2 separate regions of the Homo sapiens genome follow, and region 2 is linked to region 1. The links are contacts of gene promoters, found by promoter capture Hi-C in blood cells and fetal thymus (Javierre and others, 2016). All regions are on one chromosome and are shown on one strand. The core of a region is centred on a gene start or on the middle of the fragment in contact, and the rest is flanking DNA. Distances in the headings are between cores, read along the strand shown.

Region 1 (4,270 bases), core at 296-2,795:
TAACCAGGTAAAGTTAAGATAAACTATATGTGACTGGCTGGGTGCAGTGGCTCAGGCCTGTAATCCCAGCACTTTGGGAGGCCGAGGCAGGTGGATCACTTGAGGTCAGGAGTTTGAGACCAGCCTGGCCAACATGGTGACATGGTGAAACCCCGTCTCTACTAAAAATACAAAAAATTAGCTGGGTGTGGTGATGCGTGCCTGTAATCCCAGCTACTCGGGAGGCTGAGGCAGGAGAATTGCTTGAATCTGGGAGGCGGAGGTTGCAGTGAGCTAAGATCGTGCCATTGCACTCCAGCCTGGGCAACAAGAATAGAACTCTGCCAAAAAAACAAAAAAAAAGAAGTTTGTAATTTTCCTTGGGATAAAGCCAGCAAGCTAACACAGATGTTCACCTAATAACCATGTAAAGTTAAGATAAACTATGTGACTGGCTGGGTGTGGTGGCTCACACCTGTAATCCCAGCACTTTGGGAGGCCAAGGAGGGTAGATCACTTGAGGTCAAGAGTTTGAGACCAGCCTGGCCAACATGGTGAAACCCCATCTCTACTGAAAATACAAAAATTAGCTGGGCGTGGTGGCACACACCTGTAATCCCAGCTGCTTGGGAGGCTGGGGCAGCAGAATCGCTTGAACCTGGGAAGTGGAGGTTGCAGTGAGCTGAGATTGTGCCACTGCACTCCAGCCTGGGCAACAGAGCAAGACTGTGTCTCAAAAAAAAAAAAAAAAAAAAAAGATAAACTATATGTGACAAGTCCTCTTACTTGAGGACTCGTTATTGTTTATCTTGAAAACGTGTATGTAATGGGTTGTATGCGCTTGGCTATACAAAAAAGTAAGATTTCCTCCCTTCTTTGCAAGCTCTTAGCAGATCACCTGTCATGTACATCACATTGTGGTTGAATGCTTATTCAATAATAAAATTGTTTTCTTTCTCAACTACCTTGAGGGAGAGGATGGGGTTTTTTTTGTTGTTGTTTTTGTTTTGTTTGTTTTTGAGACGGAGTTTCGCTCATTGCCCAGGCTGGAGTACAATGGCGCAATCTCAGCTCACTGCAACCTCCGCCTCCCAAGTTCAAGTGATTCTTCTGCCTCAGCCTCCCAAGTAGCTGGGATTACAGGCATGTGCCACCACATCTGGCTAATTTTGTATTTTTAGTAGAGATGGGGTTTCACCATGTTGGTCAGGCTGGTGTCAAACTCCTGACCTCAGATGATCCACCCGCCTCAGCCTCCCAAAGTGTTGGGAATACAGGCGTGAGCCACCGCGCCCAGCTGAGTTGGGGTTTTAAGAGTTCTTAAGCTTGCCCCTCTCCCAGCTCAAGTGGCTTAATGGCGTTCTTTCCCACACACACCTTTCTGTTCCTTCACCTGCGCAAGTTTGAGGACCATGCTAGTCTGGTCCTAACTGCCCCAACTGCCAGCCTGGGCTAGCACCCGACATGAAGTCCTGTAGGCGACCTGCCCCTTTAAGAGCACCCCCCTCCTTCAGCTCCTCCCTCAGGCCTGGTGGCCGGATTTCCCAGTTGGGGCCCAGCCTTTTAAAGCCATCGCTCCTTCTTTCTGGCCGGATGTGTGCTGAGACCCAGAGTCACCCAGGGGTCTCCGTCACGTGCCAGGAGTAGGCAGAAGTGGGCTGTGACAGGTGCATGTGGGCATGGACCCCACAGCCTGGGGCTCAGGAGGGACAAGGAGCTGGGACAGGGTGGATCCCGAGAGAAAGCAAAGCCACTCGGGAGTGGGCAAGAGATATCGTTACGCAGCTGCTGTGTGCCCGACCGACCCTGTCCGAAACCCTTCCTGTACCTTCCCTTCCTCTTCCTTCTTTTCTCCCTTTTTTTTCTTTTCTTTTTTTTTTTGACAGGGTCTCACTCTGTTGCCCAAGCTGGGGTGCAGTGGCACGATCTTGGCTCACTGTAGCCTTGACATCCTGGGCTCAAGGGATCCTCCCATCTCAGCCTCCCAAGTAGCTGCGACTATGGGTGTGACACCACGCTGGGCTAGTTTTTCAATTTTTTGTAGAGATGGAGTCTCCCTATGTTGCTCAGGCCGGTTGCAAACTCCTGGGCTCAAGTGATTCTCCTGCCTCAGCCTCCCAAAGTGCTGGGATTACAGATGATAGCCACCTCACCCGGCCCACCCCTACCTTCTGAAAGAGGCATTCTTATTCTTATTCCCATTTTGCAGATCAGGAAACAGAGCTCAGTGCAGCCCACTAAATTGCTCAGGGCCCTACAGCTAACAAGCGGCAGAGGCAGGATCTGCACTCAGGTCAGTGGGACTCCAAAGCTTTGATAGTCTCTCCTTTGCATCACCTGCCCCACAGGGTCCTGCCTTCTTCCCAATTTCATTTTTCCTCGGTTTTCCTGTATGCAGTAGAGCGTGGGAGGAGAAATGGATAATTGCTGCATGCCCCCATATCTCGGTTCCTTCCTCTTCCCAGGAGCTGCTTGGAGATGCTGCTGTGGCCACTGCTGCTGCTGCTGCTGCTGCTGCCAACATTGGCCCTGCTCAGGCAGCAGCGGTCCCAGGATGCCAGGCTGTCCTGGCTTGCTGGCCTCCAGCACCGAGTGGCATGGGGGGCCCTGGTCTGGGCAGCCACCTGGCAGCGGCGGAGGCTGGAGCAGAGCACGCTCCATGTGCACCAGAGCCAGCAGCAGGCCCTGAGGTGGTGTCTACAGGGAGCCCAGCGCCCCCACTGTTCCCTCAGAAGGAGCACAGGTGTGTTTCCCAGGGTCTGGGGAGGTGACCCAAAGAGAAAGAAACCCCACAGGACCGTCAGATTCCAGAGCCTGATGGCCCCCTTACCTCCTCCACTGCCAACGGAGTGGCCTGACCCAGAGACCCAGGACTGGCTTTCTTGTCCAAGATGAATTTCCCATGCTGGGTCCTTACATCCTCTCTACCCCAGGCCTATTCTCGGTTCCTCCCTCAAGGGTCTCACCAGTCTTGCCTGAAACTCTTGGGAAACTGGCTTCCTGAGGCGTTTCTGTTGTCATTGGGGCTATAGACATAAGCACCTTCCGGAATCATCTCCCTCTGACCAAGGCCAGCCAGACCCAGCAGGAAGACAGTGGAGAGCAGCCACTGCCCCCGACCTCAAACCAGGACCTTGGGGAGGCCTCTCTGCAGGTAATCTAGGATGGCCAGAGCCCAGTCCTGGCCACAGCCCAGTCCCACCAGAGACCTCTGACTTGCAGCCAAACCCTCCAGTCATGGTGGGCAAAGAACCCCCAAATGGGGGCTCTGGGTCTGGCTCTGACACCAGACCAACATTCTCTCTTTCCTCCTCCAGGCCACCTTGCTGGGTCTGGCAGCCCTAAACAAGGCCTACCCAGAAGTGCTGGCTCAGGGACGCACTGCCCGTGTGACGCTTACATCCCCTTGGCCCCGACCCCTGCCTTGGCCTGGGAATACCCTGGGCCAGGTGGGCACCCCTGGAACCAAGGACCCTAGGGCCCTGCTGCTGGACGCACTGAGGTCCCCAGGGCTGAGGGCACTGGAGGCTGGGACGGCTGTCGAACTTCTGGATGTTTTCTTGGGCCTGGAGACTGATGGTGAAGAGCTAGCTGGGGCGATAGCTGCCGGGAACCCTGGAGCGCCTCTCCGTGAACGGGCAGCTGAGCTCCGGGAGGCCCTAGAGCAGGGGCCACGGGGACTGGCCCTTCGGCTCTGGCCAAAGCTGCAGGTGGTGGTGACTCTGGATGCAGGAGGCCAGGCCGAGGCTGTGGCTGCCCTCGGGGCCTTGTGGTGCCAAGGACTAGCCTTCTTCTCTCCTGCTTATGCTGCCTCGGGAGGTCAGTGGGACTCAAGGGCAGTGAGGTGGGGGCAACGGTCAGTGGTCACATGACAAGCAGCCATGCATTGGGCCCTACATAATCATCTCATTTAATCCTCCCCAACAAGCTGCATGCTAGGGCCAGCAGCCTCCTTTTACAAGTGAAGAAATTCAGGCTCTCTAGGTTAAGAGTCTTGTAGCTGGGTGCAGTGGCTCACGCCTGTAATCCCAGCACTTTGGGAGGCCAAGGTGGATGGATCGTTGAGGTCAGGAGTTCCAGACCAGCCTGGCCAACATGGCGAAACCCCATCTCTACTAAAAATACAAAAACTAGCGGAGTATGGTGGTGCACGCCTATAATCCCAGCTACCTGGGAGGCTGAGGCGGGAGGATTGCTTAAACCTTGGAGGCAGAAATTATAGTGAGCTGAGATCGCGCCATTGCACTCCAGCCTGGGTGACAGAGCAAGACCCTGTCTCAAAAAAAAAAAA
Region 2 (4,274 bases), core at 16-2,515, 190 kb after region 1:
GGCATAGTAGAAAGTGCACAAGCTTTGTATTCTGACAAACATGGGTAACATCCTGACCTCAGGCAAGTTATTTAACCCCCAGGCCTTATTTCCTCTTTTGAAAAATGGGAATAATGAAGTTCACCGGACTGTGTTTTATAGAGGATACTGTATGGAAAGTACCTGGCCTCAGTAGTTATTAGTAACTGTCCACCAAAATCATCCTTTGCATTTTTTCTAGAAGCCAGTCCTGAACTCCCCGACCTCCATAGGGGTAGTGTCTTAGGAAGGAGGAGACTAGGGGCACCTTTCAGCAGCCCTGTACATTATTTCACTTTCGACTAACAAGCTTTATACTGCTGACACAGTGTCTCCCCAGGTACCTAGATGTCTTCGTTTTCCTCAAAGATTTGTATATTCTTAGCCACTAGCCAACTGAAGAAGAGGCTAGATCTTCTCTGATGGAGTTTGGGCCTAATGTCTTACTTTGGAATTTGCTACTCCATTTCTTCACAGCAGTTTGACTAATCGAAATCCAGTTTTGGGGAAGTCCTTTGTTCAAATCCCTTGGCATGTCTGCTCTTAAAGGATAGGCTCCTGAGAGTTTTTATAAGCACTTTGCTTAATTTAGAGTTACAGGATGGTGAATACCATGTAGCAAGATTTCAGTTGGTTCTTTAAATCTTGCAATTGGGGGATCTTTCTTGAAGATTTTTCATAGCAGAAGGCCTCTTTTCAGCATTGTGATAGTTGGTATAGACAGTTACTCAAGCAGATTTATATCCATCACATTTCACAGCTGTCAGCATTTATAGGTCATTCCCATTTGCCTTCTCCTTCTAGCAGCCTTTTCATATTAGTAGGGCTTGCCAGGACAGTGATGGAGAAGAATGGAGAGGGAGGATCACCTCAATAAAAGGAGGGCGACTTTACCAGTTTGTAGTTTAAAATACTTAAGTAAATCACAAATCTCCCTAATGCAGATATCCGTAGACTCAAGCTGTAAATTGCTGTACCATCACCAAGGTTTAAGAACTAGGACTTTTGCCTCAACTTCAGGCAACCCCGAACTAGGTTCTTTTTTGCATGTGAACAACAGGAAAAGAAAGATGTTTCTCATAACAAAAATGATCAGGTACTTAGTTAATGTTGCAGTAATCATTTCAGTAAAGAATTATCTTTATCACTTGAGCAGTGGAATGATTTTGAGTATCTTGATAGAGGTTACTAGTTCTTTTAAAACACTGTTGGTCATGTCTGATTTGATTCTAGGTACTTGCTCGGGAATCTAATTCCCAATTATATAACATTGTTCCTTTAGGACAAAGTTTAGGAAAGTATACTTTGTCTAATGGCACAGTTTCAAAAAATAGATCTTAGAGGTAGGGAAAAAATACTGCTATCACCCAGTTGCTGAATATATAAGGTACTGGAGGGAGTACAAAGAGGGCAGCAAGTACCTACATTGTTGTGATGGGAAGAGGGAACACCAGTGGATGGGTGCTCCTTATAGTATGGCACTGGCATCCTGTACCTCATATGTCCCTGTCATCCACGGTCTTAGTCTCTGCTGTCACTCAGCTCTGTTCCTGTCTTAAACACCAACATGCTATGCTTTTAACTCTTTTGCCACCTGCCTTTGCTCTGCTTGTTCTTCCAGTGACAAATGCATGAGCCACTTTTCAGGAGGTGAAATTATTAAAACTCTTGAGGATGTGACCTATTTCACATTGAGAAATAAGTTGCCCTGAATGGAGTAACCATTTTTCCTGTAAGTTTGCAAAAGAGGCAGCAGTTGTGACACTGTGGAAGGAGATAGAAAAATTCCTTGCCATGAGGGAATGTCTAAATTTGTCCTGCGGGGAGGATGACTACAGGCAGAAATAGTGAGGTGAGGCAGGAACATAAGAGGGGTTTTCTTGATTTAGTTTGAATGTATCTAAGTGACAAAAAGGAGCATCTGAAGAACTTGGATTCTTTCATTAGCACCTCCTTTTGGTCCATTGGCCTATTCAACAAATCTATAAATCCTTCAAGTATCACACTAACTTTCAGCTCAGTGTGCTGCGGGCTCTAGACCAAAGATTCCTCCTGTAAGATTACAGAGGTTATTCCCTTTGTAAAGTAACATGATTCTCTTTCTCTTTCATTTTCAGGGAAGCAGAGACTTTCAAGGAACAAGGAAATGCATACTATGCCAAGAAAGATTACAATGAAGCTTATAATTATTATACAAAAGCCATAGGTGAGAAAGAACTGATACTTACGCTAGAAAACATTTACTTGCCAAATATTATTAAAAGTAGCTGCCAAGTCCTGGTGGCTCACGCCTGTAATCCCAGCACTTTGGGAGGCCAAAGCAGGAGGATCACTTTAGATCAGGGGTTTCAGACCACTCTGGCCAACATGACGAAACCCCGTCTCTACTGAAAATACAAAAATTAGCTGGGCCTGGTGGCGGGCACCTGTAATCCCAGCTACTTGGGAGGCTGAGGCAGGAGAATTGCCTGAACTCGGGAGGTAGAGGTTGCAATGAGCCAAGATTGTGCCACTGCACTCCAACCTGGGCAACAAAGCAAGACTTCATCTCAAAAAGATAAAAAAAATAGGCCAGGCTCAGTGGCTCATGCCTGTAATCCCAGCACTTTGGGAGGCCAAAGCAGGCGGATCACTTTAGATCAGGGGTTTCAGACCACTCTGGCCAACATGACGAAACCCTGTCTCTACTAAAAATACAAAAATTAGCTGGGCCTGGTGGCGGGCACCTGTAATCCCAGCTACTTGGGAGGCTGAGGCAGGAGAATTGCCTGAACTCGGGAGGTAGAAGTTGCAGTGAGCCAAGATTGTGCCACTGCACTCCAACCTGGGCAACAAAGCAAGACTTCATCTCAAAAAGATAAAAAAAATAGGCCAGGCTCAGTGGCTCACGCCTATAATCCCAGCACTTTGGAAGGCCAAGGCAGGCAGATCACCTAAAGTCAGGAGTTTGAGACCGGCCTGGCTAACATGGTGAAACCCTGTCTCTACAAAATACAAAAATTTGCTGGGTGTGGTGGTGCGTGCCTGTAATCCCAGCTACTAGGGAGGCTGAGGCAGGAGAATCGCTTGAACCCAGGAGGTGGAGGTTGCAGTGAGCTGAGATCCTGCCGTTGCACTCCAGCCTGGGGGACGACCAAAGAACTCCATCTCAAAAATTAAATTAAAAAAAATTGAGAAAAGTAGCTTCTCTCTGAGAAGTAGCCTTTTGCCCAATGGGTTGATAACTGTTACTGTATGAACTCCTTCAGGCTTAATGATCTCATGAAGGCCAGGCGTGGTGACTCATGCCTGTAATCCCAGCATTTTGGGAGGCCGAGGCGGGCGGATCACCTGAGGTCAGGAGTTCTTCTCCCCTAATTTGCTTACCCCAACTCAACATGCACATTTCATTTCAGCCTGGCCTGTTAACATGGTGAAACCCTGTCTCTAAAGATACAAAAATTAGCCAGGTGTGGTGGGCGCTTGTAATCCCAGCTACTCGGGAGGCTGAGGCAGGAGAATTGCTTGAACCTGGGAGGCAGAGGTTGTAGTGAGCCAAGATCACGTCGCTGCACTCCAGCCTGGGCAACAAGCGCGAATCTCCGTCTCAAAAAAAAAAACAAACTCATGAATGATAACTTTTTTCTTTTTCTTTTCTTTTTTTTTAACTCTTTAAATTTTTTAAAATAGAGACAGGGTCTTACCATGTTGCCCCGGCTGGTCTCAAACTCCTGGGCTCAAGCGATCCTCCTACCTTGGCCTCCCAAAGTGCTAGAATTACAGGGATGTGCCACCATCCCCAGCTGTGATAACTTCTTCTAACTGGGGTGGGTAGTTTTTCTTTTGATAAATTAAAGGCAATTCCAGAAATACTGAATGTTATGGCAAAACCCACCTAAATACATTTCAGTCATTGTCAATTCATTTACTACCTTAGAAAATGGCCTTTGTACATAAAAGAAGTCTTAGTTATCTCCATGCTTAATTTGCCAGCATACTTTAATCCCGTGTCAGCATTCTTCTCACCTAATTTGCTTACCCCAGCTCAACATGCACATTTCATTTTAATGTCTCATTATACAAAACAGTTCATTAAGATTAATAAGCTGCCTCTCTCCTCAAAAGATAATCACTACACTTCAAAGCCGTACCTTGTTTTGTTTTAAAACTGATTGTATCCTTGCTGCTGTCCATTTGCACAAGCAGTCAGAAATTTGGATGCAGCCTATTTATTTATTGTTGAGACAGTGTCACTGTCACCCAGGCTGGAGTGTAGT

Evidence for each region. The method cuts DNA at HindIII sites, captures the fragments that hold promoters and counts their contacts. A CHiCAGO score of 5 or more calls a contact.
Region 2: a contact is called between a fragment that was not itself captured here and the fragment with the promoter of GHDC in region 1, in 1 of 17 cell types (endothelial precursors). The highest score is 5.2, in endothelial precursors.

The regions. Positions count from the first base shown.
Region 1 is chr17:42,191,769-42,196,038 of GRCh38, reverse strand. It overlaps GHDC (GH3 domain containing), which reads left to right and starts at 1,545. Exons shown (of 10, transcript NM_032484.5): 1 at 1,545-1,646; 2 at 2,189-2,272; 3 at 2,445-2,722; 4 at 3,012-3,133; 5 at 3,297-3,798. The coding sequence starts at 2,458. RefSeq lists enhancers at 1,403-1,632, 2,527-3,057. The HindIII fragment of the contact is 986 bases long and covers 1,307-2,292 here.
Region 2 is chr17:41,998,432-42,002,705 of GRCh38, reverse strand. DNAJC7 (DnaJ heat shock protein family (Hsp40) member C7) reads left to right here. Exons shown (of 14, transcript NM_003315.4): 2 at 2,136-2,224. Among named protein-coding and RNA genes, the nearest start is that of DNAJC7, 17 kb to the left of the region's middle. The HindIII fragment of the contact is 1,869 bases long and covers 331-2,199 here.